Linked DNA regions of Homo sapiens: all the other regions are linked to region 4. The links are contacts of gene promoters, found by promoter capture Hi-C in blood cells and fetal thymus (Javierre and others, 2016). All regions are on one chromosome and are shown on one strand. Each heading gives the region's core, a stretch centred on a gene start or on the middle of the fragment in contact. The rest is flanking DNA. Distances are from core to core; before and after follow the strand shown.

Region 1 (3,149 bases), core at 478-2,977, 180 kb after region 4:
GAATTCACTTCCCTGGCTAGCTATCACTCCACTAATTTGCTTCCCTTTTTAGCAAAACTCATGAAGAAAAAAAAACCTGTTTATACTTAACTGTCTCCAATTCCTCTCTTCTCACTCTCTTAAACCAATAAGACTTTGTCCCTAGCAGTCCACAAAGACTGTTCCTGTTAAGGTCACCAATGACCTCTAAGCTGCTGAGTCTGATGGTCAGTTTTCATGGCATCCATCAATTTCCCCTTCCTCTTTGATATATCTTCTTCACTTGGTTCCCAGGATGCCATACACTCCTTGCCCAATCTCATGATTGTTCCTTTTCAAGCTCCTTTGCTGCTTCCTCCTTTCCTCTCCAACTCCTCACCACTAAAGTATCCCAGGGCTCCGCTCTTGAACCATTCCCTCTTCCATCCACACTCACTCACTTGGTGAGCTCATCCTATCCAATGGCTTTAAATATCATCTGCATACAACCAACTCCCAAATTTATGTCTCAGGCCCAGATCTCATTCCTGAATTTCAGACTTAAATATCCAGTTGCCTATGCAGCATCTCCATTCAAATGTCCACAGATGATGCAAACCTAACATCAAACACTGAACTTCCTAGTCCCCCGAAAGCAGCTCTACCTGCAGCTTTCTTTGTCTCAGTTGACAGCAGCACCACCTGTCCAGTTGCTCAGGCCAAAAGCCTTAGAGTCTTCCTTGATCTTCTCTTTCTCTCACATACTATATCCAACCCTTTAGAAAATCCTTTTGGCTGTATCTAGACAATATATGCTATGGCCCTACATGATCTTGCTACCTCGTCACCTCTCCAACTTTCTCTCCTGCTATTCCCTCCCCTTCCTCTCTCCATTCCAGGTCCACTGTCCTCCTTTCTGTGCATCAAACACACTGGCCCCACCTCAGGGCCTTTGCACTGGCTCTTTCCTCTGTCTGATATGCTTTTCCCAGATATTCACAGACCTCACCTGTCATCTCTCTCAGGTTTTTGCTCAAATGTTATCTGCTTAACAAGGATTTCCATGACCACCCTATTTAAAATTGCCACCATTTCTCCCTTGCACTACTCTAGGTTTTTTTTTTTAAACTAGCAGTGATTATCCTCTAACAAATTATATAATTTACTTATTCATTATGCCTATGGCTTTTTGTCTCCCCCATTAGAATGTAAATTGCATGAGGGGAGGGACCTTCATCTGTTCTGTTCACTGATATATTTCAAATCCTTTTAACAGTGCCTGGTATATACTAAGTTTTCAATAAATATTATTGAAGTGAATAAATGAATCAAGGGAAGACAGCCAATCTTGTATATTGCAAAACAACCTAATGTCACTTTCTTCCCCCACCCCACCGCCCCCCTGAGACGAAGTCTTGCTCTGTCACCCAGGCTGGAGTACAGCGGTGTGATCTCAGCTCACTGCAATGTCCACCTCCCGGGTTCAAGCAATTATCCTTCCTCAGCCTCCCGAGTAGCTGGGATTATAGGCACCTGCCACCACCCTGGCTAATTTTTGTATTTTCTAATAGAGATGGGGTTTCACCATGTTGGCCAGGCTGGTCTCAAACTCCTGACCTCATAATCCAACTGCCTCGGCCTCCCAAAGTGCTGGGGTTATAGGTGTGAGCCACCGCGCCCAGCCTCTAATGTTGCTTTCTCATGTCCTGTATAAAATCCTTCCCCAAAGGTCCTCCTGAAATCTGCTTCTTGATTGGTTCTCCCATATATATAGACATATCTGTTGTAACGTTTTGACAAGTATTTAGCTTTTTTTTTAATACTCATCTCAGATGTTGGTTGAATGAATTAAATGAGATAACCTATGTAAATAGGACTTAGGTCCAGTAAGATAGGATGCAAATTAGAAAAACAGTGATGATTTCTGTGTGATCCCTCCTGTGCTGTGTTCTTGGTGACTAATGAGTGTCACAGTGCCGAACACACAATGAATTCTGACTTAATTGAATTGTCGAGAGGTGTGCTGGAATGCTGATTGATTTATATTAGGTACAATGTGAATTATAATTTAGGCTGTCACTGTGGATTGCTCTCAGTCAACAAAGACTATGTAATTGCAAAAGGCAAGGACAGGATGAACTCTAACTTAAGATAACACTTGACATTTGCAAAGAGGAAATGGGACTTTACACAGCCAATAGCAAATGTGTGGCTCTCATTACTCCCAAAGGAGGTACACGCTAAAAATATAAATGGGAGGAACATGACCATACCTACATTCCAGGCTGAGAGGCCATGTGAGGTTACAGCCCTTCCTCTTGAGCGTAACTTAGGGGAGGACACCCGGCTTACCCACCACCTGTTCCTCCGTGTCAGTGTCAGAAAGAGGCCTGGTCCAGCTGGCTCAGGTCCTGACTGAGCCCTCCTGGAGGTTCTCATGTGCCTGAGAGAGTTCCTGAAGAAGGTTTCTGGACTAGTTAGGGAGGGTGTGTGGACGGAGGTCAGGGTAGGAACATGATGGAAGTGGATCTGTGGCTGGTGACCCTGGCAGTGGGATCAGGACTGCCTCTCAGGCTCCATCATCACAGAGCCAAGTGTCAGGGTGGGGGCAGAAGCAGGCCCTGCCAGGTAGCACTGCCCGGTGTGTGTCTGTTCCGGGGTTGGCTCATATGTTGGCTTGAGGGACTCCCTGATAAAAGTAGTAGGAGACACATGGAATCCAGTGTTTCCAGGTCCAGCAAACTATCCAGGCAGGGGAGTCCTTAAAAGGGTGAGTGAGTGTGTGTGCGCGTGTGTGCATGCGTGTGCATGTGTGTGTGTGTATGTGTGTGTGTAAACTCTACTCTTCTGGTGACCTTCCCATTTTAATAAAGAACAGAAATGGTAGATCCAGGCAACTTGGCTTTGTCACTTTCTAGCTGAAGACCCTGGGCAAATTACTTGATGTTTTTGGGCCTTAGTTTCCTCAGTTGTTAAATGGAGTAATAATCATATTCAACCCATAGAGTTGTTATGAGAATCAATGAGGCAATATGATACGTAGTGCCTGCCACATGCTAGCCATTCAATAAGTGAGAGCTACAAAGAAAGTGACCAAAGCCTGAGGGATTGGCAGAGATAAGAAGAGTAGGGGCCAGGCAGCCAGGAACCTGCATTGGAGCATGTATGTGAATGCCCCATGGAGTCCTCTG
Region 2 (3,109 bases), core at 266-2,765, 190 kb before region 4:
CAATGATAGACTGGATAAAAAAAATGTGGCACATATACACATATACATGTGTATATGTATGTGGCACATGTACCTGGAATACTATGTGGCACATATACATGGAATACTATGCAGCCATAAAAAAGGATGAGTTCATGTCCTTTGCAGGGACATGGATGAAGCTGGAAACCATCATTTTCAGCAAACTAACACAGGAACAGAAAACCATGTTCCCACTCATAAGTGGGAGCTGAACAATAAGAACACATGGACACAGGGAGGGGAACATCACACACCAGGGCCCATCGAGGGGTGGGGGACTAGGGGAGGGAGAGCATTAGGACAAATACCTAATGCATGCGGGGCTTAAAACCTAGATGACCAGATGATAGGTGCAGCAACCACCATGGCACATGTCTACCTATGTAACAAACCTGCACATTCTGCACTTGTATCCCAGAACTTAAAGTAAAATTTAAAAAATATATAATAATAAAAATTCTTATTGGGGAAAAAAGAATTAAAAACAAACTCTTTAGAAGCTAGTTACCTTTGGGTGGTGAGACATGGGGGTGAAAGGGAGGTTTGGAGAATAAAGCAGGAAACGTTTTTCTTTTTCCATTTAATGCCATTCTATACTTTTGAATTTTTTAACCAAGTACATGTATTACTGTTAAAATAGACATTCCTTATACAATTTCATCATTTTGGTTTTGTTTAATTTTAGGTTTAAGGCACATGAGGAAAGTATAATGTATCTATTTTTAAAGTTTTATGGTCTGAACATTTATGTTTTCCAGATAAAGCTAAGCCACTTCATAGCCTGTCTCTGCATGGTACTATTTTCCAAAGAAACACTAACCCATATCCAAAAATAACAGAAAGGCAATTTAAATTTTTACTTCAGTGCCATGAAAGCATCAAAGGGGGATTCCATTTATAATACATAACAAAACCTCTTAAAATCTTCTTGCCCAACCTCTCAATATCTCACACCATATGGTAGCTGCTTCTAAAACTCTCTCCCCCCATCTTCAAACCTTTACAGAATGCATCCCACACTGTCTCTAGTTTCCTCTACTCCCCACTTCTCTCCCTTCTCTTTCTGGGCCTATTGTCTTCTAAGTCTCGGTCCTTTCAAATATAAATCAAGCTGTCCCTGATGTTCATTTTATCCCTTATCACAAGGATGCTTCTTCTTAGTCTGGGAAAACTAGCATTATTGTTTGTTTGTTTTTGTTGGAGACAGAGTCTCACTCTGTCACCCAGGCTGGAGTGCAGTGGTGCAGTCTTGCTTCACTGCAACCTCTGCCTCCCCGGTTCAAGCAATTCTCGTGCCTCAGCCTCCTGAGTAGCTGGGACTACAGGTGTGTGCCACCACTCCCGGATAATTTTTTGTATTTTAATAGAGATGGGGTTTCACCATGTTGCCCAGGCTGGTCTCGAACTCCTAAGCTCAGGCAATCTGCCTGCCTCAGCCTCCAAAGTGCTAGGATTACAGGTATCAGCCACCATGCTAGGCCAGCATCATTGTATTATTACTTCTAAAGAAAAACCAAATTCTTATTTCTAAAAAATCTACTACAGTCAAAGATTTGAGACATAGCCTGCTAGAATATAGTTGTAAAACTACGAGTTTCTCTCCTCTAAGCATCTTAGAAATAGGGACTGGGTTTTATTCATCTTTGCATTCACTGGGCCTACAAAGTGCTTTACACACCAAGTGCACACAAAACTATTAAAGCTGTAATTTGGAATATAGCTTTTATGAGAGAAGTCATAGGGAGAAGAGGAAGGAAGCTAATTTTTACCGAGTATCTGCTATGGAGCAGTCACTGTGCCTTTCTAGTGGTGAAGTATCTCTCTCTCTTTTTTCTAGATTAGTAATTGCCACAGGGGAGCAAGAAAGGCAGATGTGAAGTACACAAAGTTTGAAGAGACCCTCCATGTGATGCTGGTATTCCCACATCATAAAACATCCTCATACCTCCCACATGTAAACTAAGTCACTTTTACAAATGCGGATGTGTCCAAAGTACCATCCTGACCTTTAAGTGCTGGGGATGAGGTAGAAAGATTAGGAACTACTGATGGAAACTCTGAGAGTGTGTGTGTGTGTGTGTGTGTGTGTGTGTGTGTGTGTGTGTGATGCATGTGTATTTAAAACACATACACATTCAAAAATGCCCACTAGATGGCAAACCCACATCTCAAATGTTAACCATTACTGGAGTGACCCTTCTGGAAGGCTAGGGCACTTTAATAATTCAAGCCAATTCGTAAAAGGCCAAGATTTTGTATACAGTTTAAGGGGCATGCAAATTAGCTTTGTGATGATGGTCTTACAAATCATTTCTAGGAATAGAGGCTAAACTTATAACTCCACCATTTCCAGAACCTAATCTGATTTATTTTCCACGCAAAATACAGTATGAATGCAGGTAAATTAAATTTCCTTACTATACCATCTGATTTCATATCTAGGTTTCATAACTTTGTGGGAGTAAAGCCAGTGATGGGGATAGGGTGTGAGCCTAAGTAGTCCCATTCTGGAAGTTCGGCATTTTATCCAGGATGCATTTCAACCTTCCGCTAACGTGAGAGGGAAGGCACCAAGGAAGAATGCGTAGCTTTCCGCCCTCCTCCCCAGCCTCCTACATTGCTGCCAGATGTAGTTGAGCCTGCACTGCTCAAAATTCTCCAGTGGCTCCCCACTAAAGGATCAACTCTATCAATGGTATCACACACACAGTCCCACCTTATGGACAAGCCGGTATATCACCAATCTCTCTCACACCCAACCGCATTGATTTGCTTTCCAGTCCCTGAGCAAGTCCTGATCTCACACGCCTCTGTGACTCTAGAAATGCTATTCTTGCTGTCCTGAAAACCCTCTCCCCTATTATCTGCAGGAGCAACTACTCACTCTTCAAGTCTCCACAAGGGTCACTTTCTCTAAGAGGCCCTCTGACTCTGCCAGCCAATCAGGTACTCCAACTTCAATATACCCATCATACCATTTGTTGCACAGTGCATCTCTCTCTTGCCACAAAAACGAGGGCTTCATGAGGGCCTGGATGGTGTCTTTCCAACTTTGTGTCCTCAGCACCGAATCCAAGGCCTAGCATAC
Region 3 (3,001 bases), core at 195-2,694, 240 kb before region 4:
ATCAATGTTACTTAAGAATTCTCTTAAATTGCCCAAAGTGAGAGAGCAACACAGAAGCCCAGAACAAATGAGGTATCAAGAGACTCACTTTCCACTTCACACTCACGTAGAGTACATACTGGTGGAATCTCCAGCATTATTTGATAGTTTCACAGTTCTTTCTCTCCTGCCTTCTTCTTCCTCTCTTCATTTGTCCCTCTCTCCCCTCCTTACCAAGTGCTTATAGTTGTATTTGCAGAAATGCAAAATTAACGCAACTCCACTGTAGCTACCTGTCTCCCCACACTGACACTCAACGGGGAGCCCTGTGAGGGCAGGTGCTCTGCCTTATTCAAACTGGTCTTATGGCCTCCAGCACAGTCAGCACCACAGATATGAGCACCCATGAACAGCAGGGCCTGGGGAAAGCTGACAGGTAAGTGTGCACACAAATGAGGGAATATAGTGTTTCATTTGCAGAGAAACATTCTGTGTCACTATTCCCGCTTGGTTGTGCTTGAATAGGAGCTGGTGAATCAAATAAGGCTGAAAAGCAGCTACACCCTTCTTAAGGGTGGAGGGGATGGGGAATGAAGACACAGATGATGGCATCTGGCACTTCTCACAGTGGCTTTGAGAGAAATGAACTTGTCCTGGGTGTCCTGGCTCCCGAGAAGACTACTCAGAGGACATGCCCTCCCCCACCTCTCCCCATACTCTAGAAAGAGGCCACAGTCTGGAAAGTGATGTCTCAACAGAGGTCTCACTAAGGACACCAGCCTGTTGCCTCCTAGAGGGGGAGTCAGGAATAGACAAACAAGTTACTTGCATTCTAGTCAGTGTGGGAAAGCTTGCGAAAGCCCCCCGACAGGGGCGCTGCGGGTGAGACTGGCCACCACCTGCAATGCTTGGATGATATTTCTCTCCAATGCTTTCCCTTGTCTTTGTGATCCTCTGCTGAAGTTGTAGGGCTTTTTCCTCATTACATTCTCTAACTTCTGTTTTGCACTTTAAGTGATGCATACATTATGGACCATTTTTTCTATTTCTCATTTTCTTATGACACTCTGGATGCTTGTTCCACCCAGTCTTGATCACAATAGTTGAGCTTCTCGACCTAAGCCACCCTCAGCAGAACCACCTTACCTGTACCCAGTGCTGTTCCTGCCAACCACCAGATGCTTGGGATGCTCCTCACACTTGTAAAGGTTAAAGTCATTCTCGGGTACCAGGTCCACATCGTGGAATATAAAGCAGTCCCAATTTTCTTCCTTGAGGGCTTCTAGATAGCCCACATTCAAGAGTTTGGCTCGATTAAACTTTTTACCTTCAGCCTAGAGATATGAAAATTAAAACTTGAAAAGCTCCTGAGATAAAGTTTCATATTGTTTGCCTCTTAGTTAGGATTCAGGAGATGGTATTATTCTAATTATTCTACGCACGAGACTACACTTGTGACATAAAGATCTGACAGAGAAGATGCAATGACAATAAAAGACCATTTGATTTTTTTCTTCGTGCTTCACACATACTTATATTCCAGAACTTAGAAACAGTCCTTGAAATCCAAAGACTTGTTGTTTAATGATAGAGAGTTCCAGTTTTGCAAGATTAAGTTCTGGAGATTGATTTCATAAATACACTGCATATATTTATGCAACCAATATATTGCATAATTATGCATAGATACATTGCATGTAAATATTCTTAACATTACTAAACTGCACACTCAATAATAGTTAAGATAGCAAAAATTTTAAAAAGTTAAAAAAAGTTAAGATGGTAAATTTTACATCGTGTGTTTCACAATTAAAAATTTTTTAAAAGCAGCTTTAAAATACAAATAACTCAAATAATCAATAATAATGTACACTTAAAATGTATTGAGTATAGCTCTCATGTTAAATATTCTTACCACAGTTAACAAAAAAAAATTTTCTCTTAAAATTTTACAAATACCTTTACGTATTCTGTATAAAACTACAAAACCTTTCTTATATACTAGTCATGTCAATTAGTATTACTGCTTCACAGTTCAACCCTAGGTAATCCCAATCTTACCCTCTGTTATGAATTTACACTAAGCTTCTAAGAGACTTAGTTAATAGCTTGCCAGAAAGGATCAAGAAATCTCAACCTATAGAAAGAGAAAGTTATTGCTAATATTTCTAAGCTACTTTAAAGTTTCTCAGAAATCCCTGTAAGAGAATCCTGTTATAATGCTACTGGTGGAGGCTAATCCTCACAGTGGCCTTATGGAGGTAGATTCGTCACTGGGCAATAAAAGAACACAGTTTGACCTGTAATATGATTGAAGCTGTAATAAAAAAATTAAATAATTTTTTCATGGCTGCTTCATTCAAATTCCTTCAGAATGAATTCCAGTTAAGTGGTTTATCATAAAAGTGCAAGTATTTCTCAGAAGTTACCACAATGTTTTCCTGATAAGAATAACACGAAGCAGACATATTTTTCTCTTTCTCTTTTTCTTTTTTTTTAATTTGAGATGGAATCTCGCTCTGTTGCCCAGGCTGGAGTGCAGTGGTGTGATCTTACCTCACTGCAGCCTCCACCTCCTGGGTTCAAGTGATTCTCCTGCCTCAGCCTCCTGGGTAGCTGGGACTACAGGCATGTGCCACCACACCCAACTAATTTTTTTTTTTTTTTTAGTATTTTAACAGAGTATTTTGTATTTTTAGTAGAGACAGGGTTTCACTATGCTGGCCAGGCTAGTCTCAAACTCCTATCCTCAAGTGATCCACCCACCTTGGCCTCCCAAAGTGCTGAGCCACCGGGCCTGGCCCAAAGCAAACATGTTTTTCTATTCATAAAAATAGTACTATACCTTGTAGGTTACTGTCCTGAGCAAGAACTCAGAATCAAATAAATCATAACTATGACCAACAACCTTAAAAACAAAAATAGCTATAAAACAATATAATAGTAACATTTTGTTCCAAGTACTAAAATACAGACATAGGTGTGCTATATAAGCACACTGATTTTCAAGAGCCTCAGTTTA
Region 4 (3,052 bases), core at 243-2,742:
GGTGGCGCAAGCCTGTAATCCACCTACTCAGGAGGCTGAGGCAGGAGAATTGCTTGAACCCAGGAGGCGGAGGTTGTGGTGAGCCGATATTGAACCATTGCACTCCAGCCTGGGCAACAAGAGCGAAACTCCATCTCAAAAAAAAAAAAAAAAAAGAAAATAGATAAATATTTGTAGTTCTATGATTACTAAATATATCTACACTGACCTATATATACCTGTATAAAGATATATACCTGTACTATACTATATACCTATATTGTCCAGTATCATGTTGCCCACTGTCAAGAAACAAAATTTCATCAAATTTAGTTTAAAGTTCTTGGCCAGGCATGGTGGCTCACGCCTGTAATCCCAGCACTTTGGGAGGCCGAGGTGGGCAGATCACCTGAGGTCAGGAGTTTGAGACCAACCTGGCCAACACGGTGAAACCCTGTCTTTACTAAAAATACAAAAATTACCCGGGCATGGTGACACACTCCTGTAATCCCAGCTACTCGGGAGACTGAGACAGAAGAATTGCTTGAACCCGGGAGGCAGACGTCATAGTGAGCCAAGATTGTGCCACTGCACTCCAGGCTGGGCAACAGAGTTAGACTGTCCTCTGTCTCAAAAAAAAAAAAAAATCGAATTGGCTTTTATTAGTGATTCATGAATCAGGCAGCATCTCATCTATAAAACAGAAAAGTGTTCTAATGAGCTGAGCAGAAGGGGTTGGGCTTATAGGCAGAAAAGGGCTGAAGAAAGCAGAAATAAGGAACAAAAAGCAGATTGGTCATTTTGAAGTTACTTTCCTCAAAGAGTTACATCAGAGGGGACTTCTTTATCATGCCAGCTCAGGTATATGGGCCCCTTCTCCTATTTGTTGGAAAACTGACCCCTTTTAAAGCTGAGTTTAATTACGCAGCACCTAGGACAAGTTGCCTCCATTCTGGTTTTGTCTGCTCTCTTGAGGCCTAGTGCCAGAGTTCTGTCCAAAACAACGACCTCCCATAAACTTTATTTAACACCATTGATCTTTTTTCCTACGTCTAAGTCACCCCAACTGTTATAAATTCCTATTACAAAGGGATCCCTGCTATGCTAATTGCAACCTTTGGGGTCTAACCGTGCTGTACACACACACACACACACACACACACACACACACACATGCTCAACAAATTTATGCTATTTGATAAGAGGCAATTTGACGTCAAGAGAAGAACTGTTTGGCCTAGGCTCTATGCCAAGTCTTGGTTGTGCCACTAACCGTGAAACATACCCTCTCTGACCTTCAGTTTTCTGGCTGCAGACCTATTTTCCCAGGGGTGCCAGGGAGGGAGGATAGGCAACTGGTCCATTCGTTTATCCTCCCCACCTTCCCGGCGCAGCCTTCTCAGGGAAACTCCGCCTCAAGGCTGGGGACTGGAGGAAGGGTGGTGGGGCCACGGTGGCCATCTTTGTGCGGGGCGACCCGCCGCCCACGTGCTGCGGCTCCCGGGCCATCTTTGTGCGGGGCCGCGCTTCCGCCAGCGCCGCAGCGGGGAATCTGCAGTAGGTCTGCCGGCGATGGAGTGGTGGGCTAGCTCGCCGCTTCGGCTCTGGCTGCTGTTGTTCCTCCTGCCCTCAGCGCAGGGCCGCCAGAAGGAGTCAGGTGGGCTCCGGGCAGTGCCGAGCCTGCCCCTTGGGCTCGGGGTCTGGCCGGAGTCCCGAGGCGCTCCCCCGCGCGGCCGGCTCCCGGGAAGATGCCGTGGCCGCTGTAGCTCGGAGCTGGGCAGAAGGCACCGGGGCGCCTTGCGGCGGAGAGTGAGGTGCCGGGGTCTCTGCTCCTGCTCTGGACCCTGGAGAGTAACCCATTCCCCGGAATTCAGAATGACAGGGAGGAGAGGGAATTCCCCGTTCACCCGCAGGAGGCGTGGCCCGTGCTTGGCTACTCTGGACCTGCCTGAAACACTGAGGGGTCGGGGATGGGGGCAAATGTCGTGCGCGCGAGCGTGTGTGTATATGCGTTGCCAGAAGAGAAGAGGGGTTTAATGTCTGTAGCTTTTAACTGATCCTCTTTGTGGAGTTCAATTTGATTAGTAGAAAGTGAGAGTCCGCGTCACTATCCATAGCATTCTGAGGGTTGAGCATTAAGCTTGGGAATTTTCCAGTTTCTTGGACACCTGACAGCCGGATAGAGGAACAGACTTGACGTGAGCGTGGGAGTTGCACACACAAAAATTCCTCCCTAGCGTTTCGTTTCCATCAGTGGGATGGGAAGGGGATTTCTGAAAGTTTTGGTCTTCTGTTTCTTCTGTTGGTGTGGTGTCAGCAAATAACATTCAGGAAAATTTTTTTAACTCTCATTTACTTCACTTTTTAAAGGTTCAAAATGGAAAGTATTTATTGACCAAATTAACAGGTCTTTGGAGAATTACGAACCATGTTCAAGTCAAAACTGCAGCTGCTACCATGGGTGAGTTCTTTTCTTTGATGTGTCTTTGAGAGTTTAGTTGCTGTCACAGGAAGTATTCTAACATCCTTGAGAGATTTTGGTTGCAGTGGTCAGAAAGGCAAGGATGTTTTTCTATTTCTGGGGAATAAAAATGCTCTCGCATGGGAAAGGCTCAGGTGGTGTCAACCTAACCACTGACTCACTGCGGGATTCAGTGCATGTGCATCTGTTTTTCCCACTGGGCTGCAAGCTTCCTGAGGTCAGGGTCTGTGTCTTATTTGCTGTTGTCTCCCTGGTGCTAGCTGTCAGTGCGTGCTCGATAAATATTGTTGAGGAAATAAACCCATCTATCGCTGAATCTAGTCCTAAATTTCCTGATGGTTATCTTTAGAAAATGCACATCAGGCTGGGCATGGTGGTTCATGCCTGTAATCCCAGCACTTTGAGAGGCCAAGGCAGGTGGATCACCTGAGGTCAGAATTTCGAGACCAGCCTGGCCAACATGGTGAAACCCTGTCTCTACTAAAAATACAAAAATTAGCTGGGCATGATGGCACGTGCCTGTAATCCCAGCTACTCGGGAGGCTGAGGCAGGAGAATCGCTTGAACCCGGGAAGCAGAGGTTGCATTGAA
Region 5 (3,299 bases), core at 95-2,594, 210 kb after region 4:
TTCACCCTCATCCATTATTATCAATTCTTTCAACTAGGTGCTAACTCACATTGTTTAGAATCTTGCTAATCAAACAGTGCTTCCTGGATGAGCAATATCAACATCACTTGTAACCTTAATATACAATAAAATGTGGTTCAACAAATTATTGGGGAAAAGAAAATAGGCTAACCATCTGGAGAAAATTAAACACTACATTAAAAGGAAGAGCTCTAGATGCATTAAAGACCTAGATTGGAAAGATTGAAATATGAAATTAATAGCAAATTGTGGAGGAGAATATTTTAATACTGAGGGATGGGGGAATAACTTATGTTACATTTCAAAAGTACAAATTGCATGTCAAAAAAATTGAAGAAATTCATTACAGCAAAATAAAGGCTTGGGGTTTTACATACAATACTATAGACAAAGTTAACAAATAAATGATAGAATTGGGAGAAAATATTTGAAATCTACATATTTTTAAAAATTTTAAAAGTTAAAAAACTAATGTGTTCACTTAGAATATGTATTCAGTTGAAACAATGTCACCTTCAGTCGCAATATCTTCCATATATGTAGGGCTGTCGAGGTTGTGAACCATCATTTAATCTTCATGGCAGTCAAAATTATTATCTACATTTATAGTTGGGGAAAAATTGAAGTTCAGAGGTGTACATTTGTTCAAGGCTGCGTAACTTGAAAGTGGCAATCCTGAGTCTCATCATCTTCTCCCTGTACTCTGTCTACTATCCTACTTAATTTATCTAAATGCAAGGCAAGGCCTGGTGTAGTGGCTCACACCTGTAATCCCACACTTTGGGAGGCTAAGGCAGGCAGATCATCTGAGGTCAGAAGTTTGAGACCAGCCCAACCAACATGGTGAAAACCCATTTCTACTAAAAATACAAAAATTAGCCAGGAGTGGTAACCTGTAATTCCAGCTACTTGGGGGGATGAGGCATGAGAATCACCTGAACCCAGTGGGTGGCAATTTCAGTGAGCCGAGATTGTGCCACTGCACTCCAACTTGGGTGATGTAGTGAGACTGTCTCAAAAAAAATTAATTAATTAATGCAAAGCAAAATTTTTTTATTTTAAAACTAATCATTGATCTGTATTCACTTGTGCTATTGCATTTTTATGTATAGGAAATGAACAAGGAAGAAAAGGAAGATAAATATCTAACAGAGTTTAGAGAGCTAAGAGAATTGAGATAAACAGTAGGGACAGATAACAGACCCAAAGACTCAAACAGCTTTTCTGCAATTGAGAAGATTTTTTGGCCCACTGTCCCTCCTTGCTTCAGGGAAGAAAGATTACTGGTTGTGATAACACTGCCTGTGACTTCCTCAGGTTAGCTAATATAGGCAGGCCTCAGGCAAAGAAGTTGAGTAGCAGCCCTTTCTGCACCACACTTCTTTAACCTGCTGTGTTCCAGACATTTACAACCTTTGGTTTCCTTACTGAGTGCTGTAACCCTTAACACTCTTTCAACAACTGCTTCTTCAGGATGAAATATTCTCCTGACTTTGAAAAAAACAACCAGTGGCCTTTCCAAAGTGAAATATTTAGTCATTTATATCTAGCTACTAAACTATCCTCTTGCTTCAGAATGGTACAGCTAACCCACATATGTGGGTTACTTTTCCTTCTACCTTTTAATTTATATGAAGTAAGGTGGAGCGTGCTGGCTCACGCCTGTAATCCCAAGCACTTTGGGAGGCTGAGGTGGGCAGATCACTTGAGGTCAGGAGTTTGAGACCAGCCTGACCAACATGGTGAAACCCCGTTTCTACTAAAAATACAAAAATTAGCCAGTCGTGGTGGCAGGCGCCGGTAATCCCAACTACTCAGGAGGCTGAGGCAGGAGAATCCCTTGAACCAGGGAGGCGGAGGTTGCAGTGAGCCGAGATCACGTCACTGCACTCCAGCCTAGGCAACAGAGTGAGACTTTGTCTCAAAATAATAATAATAATAATTTATATAAAGTAAGCTGTAAGGTCAACTTTTGATTTTTATGTTATCACTATGCTTTTCTTCTTTCTCTATCATTTTTTCTTCTCCTACCCAGTCTAAATGCTTTTATACTCGTGGGATGGCCTGTTTCGGTATTAAAGGAAAGGTAGGAGTATATAACATAAGAAATTTATCCTTTCCCATTCTACCCCAACAAAAATCTTAATAGCCCACTTCCCCCAAGAAAAATAATTTTAGAGAGCTGTAATTAGAGTTTAAATTGACAGTAGGTGGCTGATGAATACCAAATAATAAAAGATAAAATTCACCCATCTGTCTTACAAAGGCAACTCTGAAATTAGTTTGATTCATACCTTTTATATCAAGCTCTTGCTCATCAATTTTGATTTTAACCAGAATTGGAGCTCTTTTAAACCTTTGGAATGCTTTGCTATTACTATAATTGCTAAATTAGCAGGCATTAAGACTTGAAGTGGTGACTGTAGTGGATTTTTTCATAGCACAGTGAATATGTTTATTGTATGTTATTGAATGGGGACATTAGCTACCAGTGGCACCAAACAGCAATTTTGTGGATGCATGACAGCCCTGGTAATGCCAGAAGCAACAACTGAGAAAGTACTTTCTAAAATCCTTCTATGATAAAGGTATTTTTAGCCATTTTTCAGGCCTAACTAATCCCAGGTGTGCCAGCTTTACCAAGTAAGGGTGAGTAGTTGTTGGTGGAGAAGGAGTGACACCATATGTTGAGAGATAAGAATTACAAGACTTAAATTCTCATTGGCCTAATGTACTATGTCTACTTTGTATAAACTAACTTACAAAAGTAAGTAAGGTAATTTTTGTCCTTATATCTGCCCCTGCAAAGGAAAAAATGCTTTCCAATTTCCACAGGTAAATATGTACTGTACATCGTTCTTTATAGCTGCAATTTTATTCAAATTGCCTGCCACAGTTTTATGAATGTTGGTTGTATTAGTCTGTTCTCATGCTGCTATAAAGAAATACCCAAGACTGGGTAATATAAAGGAAAGAGGTTTAATTGACTCACAGTTCTGCATTGCTAGGGAGGCTCCAGGAGACTTACAATCATGGTGGAAGGCAAATGAGAAGCAGGGACCTTCTTTACAAGATGGTAGGACGGAGTGAGTGCCAACAGGGGAAATGCCACTTATAAAACCATCAGATCATGTGAGACTCACTCACTATCACAAGAACAGCATGGGAGAAACTGCCCCCATGATCCAGTTACCTCCACCTGGTTCCACCCTTGACACATAGGGATTACAATTCAAGATGAGATTTTCAGTGGGGACACAGCCAAACCATATTATTGG
Region 6 (3,331 bases), core at 633-3,132, 250 kb after region 4:
TAGCTGCATAAATTCCATTATGGCTGTTTCATATTTTTTTAAACAATTCTCGTATTGATGTGATCATTTAAGTTTCTAATTTTTCACTCTTAGAAATGAGACTTTATGAACATGTTTGCATATATATCTTTGAATACCTGTCCAGTTATTTCCTAGAATAAATTCCTAGGAGTAGAAATGCTGGAGCAGCCGGGCGCGGTGGCTCACGCCTGTAATCCCAGCACTTTGGGAGGCAGAGACGGGCGGATCACGAGGTCAGGAGATCGGGACCATCCTGGCTAACATGGCGAAACCCCGTCTCTACTAAAAATACAAAAAAAAAATTAGCCGGGCGTGGTGGCGGGCACCTGTAGTCCCAGCTACTCGGAAGGCTGAGGCAGGAGAATGGCCTGAACCCAGGAGGCGGAGCTTGCAGTGAGCCGAGATCGCGCTACTGCACTCTAACCTGGGCGACAGAGCGAGACTCCGTCTCAAAAAAAAAAAAAAAAAAAAGAAAGAAACGCTGGAGCAAAGCGTATTTTAACTTGTCAATTTGGTGTACCTATTTGTATTTCCATCAACAGTTTATGAGAAGGCCTGTTTCTTCACAACATAATCAATGCTAGGTACTTTCAGTCTTTTAAATCTTTGCTTATGTGATAAAATAGCATAAAATAGTATCTTGCTGTTTTACTTTTCTTTGATTACTAGTTATTTTCATTATCTTCTCATATGTTTGTTAGAAGTTTTACTTTTTGTTTTGTGAATTCTCCTTTACTCATTTTTCCATGGGGTATTTAACTGCCTAATTGATTTACAAGGGCTTTTTATATAGAAAGGCTATTTAAACTTTTTATCATATATGTTCCAAAACCTTTTTCTAAGTTTGCCATTCACCTTTTAAATTTGTTTGTGATATTTTGAGGCATAGAAGTTGAAACTTACCCTCAATTCTATTGATCATCTCCTTTTATGGTTTCTGGCTTTTAAGCCCGGCTTAAAAAGACCTTCACTCAAAGATGATATAAATATTGACTTATGTTTCCTGTTAGTACTTTTATAGTCTCATTTTTACATTAATTTTTTTAAAGATCTGGAATTAATTTTTCTGCAAGAGACAAGCTAACTTTCCCACATGTTAATAACAAAGTGATCCCAGCATTAATTATTGAATCATTTATCCAGATAGAGCCTGTCTGCCTGCCTGCCTGCCTTGGTTCCTCCCTTCCTTCCTTTTTCTCTCTCTTTCTTTCAGCAGAAACCATCTCTTCTCTTTTCTCTGCTCCCATATTTCTGGAGGGAAACAGAGAGTGGTATGGAACTGAAACAAAGAAGAAAGAAACCAGAGAATGTAGTAATGCTGAACAGGTTCAGAAGTGCTGTACAGCATTCTAGAATAGCTCTGTTCTACAACCTTGCCCAGTGACACACATATAAATAGGCACTTCTGTGGGTCAACCATGGTACTTTGACCCACTTAGTTTCCTGGCAGAGGTGAGAATAACAAGGCAATTCTCTCAAGATTTGTGCGCATAATCCTGGTTATAATGGATTCATGATTTTGTACCTGTCAACATTTAAAAGAGGAATGGACTTGACAAAGCTTCGAAGATTTGTTTCTACTTGATTATATAATATTTTAAGTGACCATAACAGGTTTCAATTTTTAAACTGATTTTTCTCTTTTAGGGCAGAACCATACACTTTTCCTCCTACTTCTACTAAGCACCTATCCATCCCTTCAAAGTCTACTGTGGGCACTCAGACTGATTATCGGGATGCTGACGTTCAAACAGATCCATACTCTGCAGAATATGTAGTATGTCAGGACTCAATCCCTGAGCTCTTGACCCTGGCTACGCTTACTTGGGGTGAGTTGGTAAATCTCCTGACTATTGGCAGATGACGATGCTGATAACCACGCATGCTGTTCAAATGGCCCATGTACAGGCAATTGTGGTTTACAGTGTTGCTATATAAAGTGTCTTAGTACAGCAACTTCATAGACTCATAATTTTTCTGATACTTCTGGTCAAATAAAGATACTATCTTTTTATTGTGAGTAGTTTTATCGTACTCTATCTGTGAAGCTGAATTTCAGCTTAATATTGCAGTTGCTTTGCTGACTACTCACCTATGTCCTCTCATTTCTCTCTCCTAGTGAACCACTTCCTTTTCATTGAGCAATCATACTTCTTTAAACATAAGCTTTGAGTGTAAAATACTGAATGCACATTCCTATGTATGTCATATTATCTTAATTTGCCAAAATATCTTAATTTACCAATCCTCCCTTATATACTTTATTAGATGATTTGGATGACTTGACATTATCTCTGAAATGCTAAATATCTTTCAGGCTCAGAAATTAACTCTTAGAATGTAATAAAATCTGGCCTAGGCCTATATTATGTGAACCTATAAAATTAATAAGTGAGACTACCTTTAGAAATTATTAGAAATTAGCTTATGTAACTCACTTAGTTGTATTAATAGCTGGGAAACTGAGAACCAGAGAGGTTAACTAATTCCTCCAAGGACATAGAGATAGTTGGTTCATGGTAATGATTTTTAAATGAGATTACTTTCCCCCGCATTGTAACAGATAGCTGTGATCAAGTCTGCGTCCCAGACAAAGAAGATGTTCATATCTGGGCTCTAGTTTTGATTCTTGTTTCCTGGCCCACTTTATGAATCCAGATTAAGCATTATCAACACCCATACTTTTTTTTGAGACGGAGTCTTACTCTGTCGCCCAGGCTGGAGTGCAGTGGTGCGATCTTGGCTCACTGCAACCTCCGCCTCCTGGGTTCAAGTGATTCTCCTGCCTCAGTCTCCCGAGTAGCTGGGAGTACAGGTGCATGCCACCACACCTGGCTAATTTTTTTATTGTATTTTTAGTAGAGGTGGGGTTTCACCGTGTTAGCCAGGATGGTCTCGATCCCCTGACCTCGTGATCTGCCCACCTCAGCCTCCCAAAGTGCTGGGATTACAGGCTTGAGCTACCGCACCTGGCCCAACACCCGTACTTTAAAGCAGAGGCTCTACTTTCAGGCCTAGATGGCAAATTAAAAATATGCTGAAACCTTCCCTTTCTGCTCTGAATGCATAAAAATTACAGGAAAAAATTAATAAACATGTAGACACACTTAAAAGCAAGAAAGAAAATATTCGTAATGTAGAAATGGAGACTTTTTCCTAAGAAAGAAGTAGCTGGGAACCTTTGGTGGTGAGTAGGAGCTGTGCATGGCAGGGAACCAGGTCCAAGTCACCTGCCTGAAGGTGAGGGGCCAGCGCCCTTCTCCTGCACACTGGTGCAACTGAAGCCTGGTGCCTGCCCAATAAAGATTAT
Region 7 (3,368 bases), core at 546-3,045, 230 kb after region 4:
CCCTCTTTTGCTTGGAGATTCATCTCTCTATATATTTGTTATTGATAGAAGATAAAAAGCTAATAAGAGACTGTGTGAACATACACACAAATGAATAAAAGTTGGTGAACTACCTAAAATAAATGAGATCAAGCCTGTGTATTTTTGTCTTTAGCTTCCGGTTGGGAAGAATTTCTTCCTTTCTATAGCTGTGAGACCATCAACCAAAATTCAGAACAAACTCCAATAAGTTGCAAAACACTGATCAAAATCAAATGCTCACTGCAGCCTCAAAATCCTGGGCTCAAGCTATCCTCCCACCTCAGCCACTGAGTAGCTAGGACTACAGGCGCATGACACCACGCCCAGCTAATTTTGTTGCTGTTGTTGTTGTAGAGAGAGGATCCCACTATGTTGCCCAGCGTGGTCTCAAACTCCTGGCTTCAAGTGATCCTCTTGCCTCAGCCTCCCAAAGTACTGGGAATACAGGCATGAGCGACCATACCTGGCCTAAATGCTCTCTCTCTCTCTCTATATATATATATATATATACTAACCTGTAAATTTAAAATTTCACCTAATGAGCCAGCTTAAACTGGAAATTTTGTTTTCTAATAACATTTGTTTTTTCTGATTGAACTGATGTTTTCCAACAGTAGCAAAAGCTGATGTATAGCATTTAGAAGCTAAATGTAACTACCATGTAATGTAGTAGTAAATGTTACTATGTAATAGTTACATAGTAACTAATAGTATGTATTAGTAGTACACAGTACTAATACTGCTGATACTACTGCTAGTACTATGTAACTGGTAGTTACATAGTAGTTACATTTTGCTACTAAATGTAACTGAATAGCATTTAGCTACTAAATTTATATATTTAAATCCATGTTTACTTACATTTAGCTACTAAATGCTATTCAGTTAGTAGTGAAATGTAAATATGTGTTTAAGTATATGAATTATATCTTTAACAGTCATGCCTATTCTTTAGCCCTACATTTGCCCTTTGTATTCTTACATATTTTAAGATGAATATCAGATGTAGTTCTAGGTAAATGGGAAGCTCATGATGCACGAAGACAGAAATGGAGAAATTGAGAAGATTTATGAAGCTAGGTAGTATTATAACATTTATCGGACACTCGCTATCTAACAGACTGTGTTCTAAGTCCTTTGTAGGTGTTACCTCCCATAATTTTCCCTGATATTATTGCTGTTTGTTCTCATTTTAGTGTTTTGGAAACTGATGCATGTGGATATTAAGTAAATGCCGAAGATCACACGAACTGTTTTAGAACAAAGATTCAAACTTAGGAAATCTGATTCTAATGTTCACGTAGTTAATCACTGTATTAGAGTTTCTGCAGTGTACGGAAGTGTTAGTTTTACTGAGGATGTATTGAGTTTGTCTAGTAGATGTTTGGTCATTTGAAATGGAATATCTTAAAGATTGTGAAGGTATGAAATTGGCAGTGAGACAGAAGTGAAAGTCACTGATGGCAGACAGGTAAATACATGAATAATTCAGTAGCTCAATTCATTCCAATGTATTTTCCTTTAGCACCTGCTTTGTGCCAGGTGCTGGTGTAACTACCCAGTGAGTTCTCCTTGCTCGCTGGCTAGACAGAGTCAGTTTATAAGATAGGGGAACTGCAATAGAAAAAGAGTTTAATTCACACAGAGCCAGCTGTACAAGAGACTGGAGTTTTGTTATTACTCCCCAAACGCTTGGAGGTTAGGGGTTTTTCGGAGACAGTGTGGAGGGCAAGGGGGGTATGGTAGGGGGCATGGCATACTAATTGGCTGGGTTGGAGATGACACCATAGGGAATTGAAGCTGTCCTCTTGGGCTGAGTCAGTTCCTAGGTGGAGGACGACAGGACTCGTTGGCAGGTCCAGGTGGGGCCATCTGGTTGTCAGAAATGCAAAGGCCTAAAAAGATACCTCAAAAGGCCAGTCTTAGGTTCTATAATAGTGATGTTATCTTCAAGAGTAATTGGGGAAGTTGCAAATCTTATGACCTCCGAAAAAATGGCTGGTAATTATTTATAATTCAGGCCCCTTTCATCCTAACTTTGTGGACTTTCACTCATTTTATAAAAATAGTTTAGTTTTTGGGAGGGGCTATTATCATTTAAACTATAAACTAGGCCAGGCACGGTGGCTCACGCCTGTAATCCCAGCACTTTGGGAGGCCCAGGCAGGTGGATCACCTGAGATCAGGAGTTCAAGACCAGCCTGGCCAACATGGCTAAACCCTGTCTCTACTAAAAAATACAAAAAATTAGCTGGGTGTGGTGGTGGGCACCTGTAATCCCAGCTACTCAGGATGCTGAGGCAGGAGAATCACTTGAATCTGGGAGGTGGAGGTTGCAGTGAGCCAAGATTGTGCCACTGCACTCCAGCCTGGGCAACAGAGCAAGACTCCATCTCAAAACAAAAACAAAAAACAAACAAACAAAAGTATACTCTAAATTTCTCCCAAAGTTAGCTTGGCTCATGTCCCAGAATGAGCAAAGACAGCCAACCTGTGAGGCTAGAGTCAAGATGGACTCAGCCATGTCAGATTTTTCTCACTGTCATAATTTTCTCAGTTATAATCTTTTGCAAAGGTGGTTTTACTGGCCTAAGAGATATGGATGAATTCAGGGTGAACAGGACATTTGAGGTCTCTGGTCTCACAGAGCTTACATTCTAGTGGGAGGAGATATAATAAATAAGCAAATCAGTAACATTTCAGTGCTATAAAAAAAATCAAGGTAATAGTGTCTTCGGATGTGTTTATGGAGGCTGCTGGCTGTTGACTACCTTAGATAGTTTATCTGATAGAATGAGGAAAAGAAGTCTTTCTTCTTCTTCTTTTCTTTCTTTTTTTTTTGAGACAGAGTCTTGCTCTTGTTGCCCAGGCTAGAGTGCAGTGGTGCCATCTCAGCTCACTGCAACCTCCGCCTCCCAGGTTCAAGCAATTCTCCTGCCTCAGCCTCCTGAGTAGCTGGGATTACAGGCGCCTACCACCACGCCTGGCTAATTTTTTTGTATTTTTAGTAGAGACGGGGTTTCACCATGTTGGTCAGGCTGGTCTTGAACTCCTGGCCTCAGGTGATCTGCCTGCCTCAGCCTCCCAAAGTGCTGGGATTACAGGCGTAAGTCACCATGGCTGGCTGAGGAAAAGTCTTTCTGATGAGATTGCCAGAGGCGTTTAAACCTGGGCAACTCCATTTTGAGTAGGGGCTAGGTAAAATAAGGCTGAGACCTACTGGGCTACATTTCCAGATGGTTAGGCATTCTAAGTCACAGTATGAGACAGGAGGTCAGCACAAGATACAGGTCATAAAGACCTTGCTGATAAAACAGATTGCAGCAAAGAAGCTGGCTAAAACCCAC

The links. Contacts are between HindIII fragments. The CHiCAGO score rates a contact against its expected background, and 5 or more counts as called.
Region 1: a fragment that was not itself captured here is called in contact with the fragment with the promoter of POGLUT1 in region 4 in 3 of 17 cell types (M1 macrophages, M2 macrophages and monocytes); the score reaches 7.9 in M1 macrophages.
Region 2: a contact is called between a fragment that was not itself captured here and the fragment with the promoter of POGLUT1 in region 4, in 1 of 17 cell types (megakaryocytes). The highest score is 5.2, in megakaryocytes.
Region 3: a contact is called between a fragment that was not itself captured here and the fragment with the promoter of POGLUT1 in region 4, in 2 of 17 cell types (activated CD4 T cells and naive CD4 T cells). The highest score is 6.6, in activated CD4 T cells.
Region 5: a contact is called between a fragment that was not itself captured here and the fragment with the promoter of POGLUT1 in region 4, in 15 of 17 cell types (megakaryocytes, total B cells, monocytes and 12 more). The highest score is 13.2, in megakaryocytes.
Region 6: a contact is called between a fragment that was not itself captured here and the fragment with the promoter of POGLUT1 in region 4, in 1 of 17 cell types (monocytes). The highest score is 7.8, in monocytes.
Region 7: a fragment that was not itself captured here is called in contact with the fragment with the promoter of POGLUT1 in region 4 in 2 of 17 cell types (monocytes and naive B cells); the score reaches 11.9 in monocytes.

The regions. Positions count from the first base shown.
Region 1 is chr3:119,650,292-119,653,440 of GRCh38, forward strand. All of the region lies in intron 2 of POPDC2 (popeye domain cAMP effector 2), which reads right to left. Among named protein-coding and RNA genes, the nearest start is that of POPDC2, 8.7 kb to the right of the region's middle. The HindIII fragment of the contact is 5,739 bases long and covers 1-3,149 here.
Region 2 is chr3:119,272,948-119,276,056 of GRCh38, forward strand. The region is part of intron 3 of B4GALT4-AS1 (B4GALT4 antisense RNA 1); the gene reads left to right. Among named protein-coding and RNA genes, the nearest start is that of ARHGAP31, 20 kb to the right of the region's middle. RefSeq lists an enhancer at 2,097-2,266. The HindIII fragment of the contact is 6,975 bases long and covers 1-3,109 here.
Region 3 is chr3:119,222,933-119,225,933 of GRCh38, forward strand. It overlaps B4GALT4 (beta-1,4-galactosyltransferase 4), which reads right to left. Exons shown (of 8, transcript NM_003778.4): 5 at 1,126-1,313. Among named protein-coding and RNA genes, the nearest start is that of B4GALT4-AS1, 2.1 kb to the right of the region's middle. RefSeq lists a silencer at 2,356-2,528. The HindIII fragment of the contact is 1,235 bases long and covers 828-2,062 here.
Region 4 is chr3:119,467,471-119,470,522 of GRCh38, forward strand. POGLUT1 (protein O-glucosyltransferase 1) reads left to right here and starts at 1,493. Exons shown (of 11, transcript NM_152305.3): 1 at 1,493-1,636; 2 at 2,350-2,440. The coding sequence starts at 1,552. RefSeq lists enhancers at 1,157-1,657, 1,350-1,519 and a silencer at 1,570-1,769. The HindIII fragment of the contact is 3,798 bases long and covers 1-2,117 here.
Region 5 is chr3:119,678,797-119,682,095 of GRCh38, forward strand. No RefSeq gene overlaps it. Among named protein-coding and RNA genes, the nearest start is that of COX17, 3.0 kb to the left of the region's middle. The HindIII fragment of the contact is 6,506 bases long and covers 1-3,299 here.
Region 6 is chr3:119,713,894-119,717,224 of GRCh38, forward strand. It overlaps CFAP91 (cilia and flagella associated protein 91), which reads left to right. Exons shown (of 18, transcript NM_033364.4): 6 at 1,669-1,850. Among named protein-coding and RNA genes, the nearest start is that of CFAP91, 13 kb to the left of the region's middle. The HindIII fragment of the contact is 605 bases long and covers 1,581-2,185 here.
Region 7 is chr3:119,695,887-119,699,254 of GRCh38, forward strand. No RefSeq gene overlaps it. Among named protein-coding and RNA genes, the nearest start is that of CFAP91, 5.5 kb to the right of the region's middle. RefSeq lists an enhancer at 1,613-1,662. The HindIII fragment of the contact is 7,689 bases long and covers 1-3,368 here.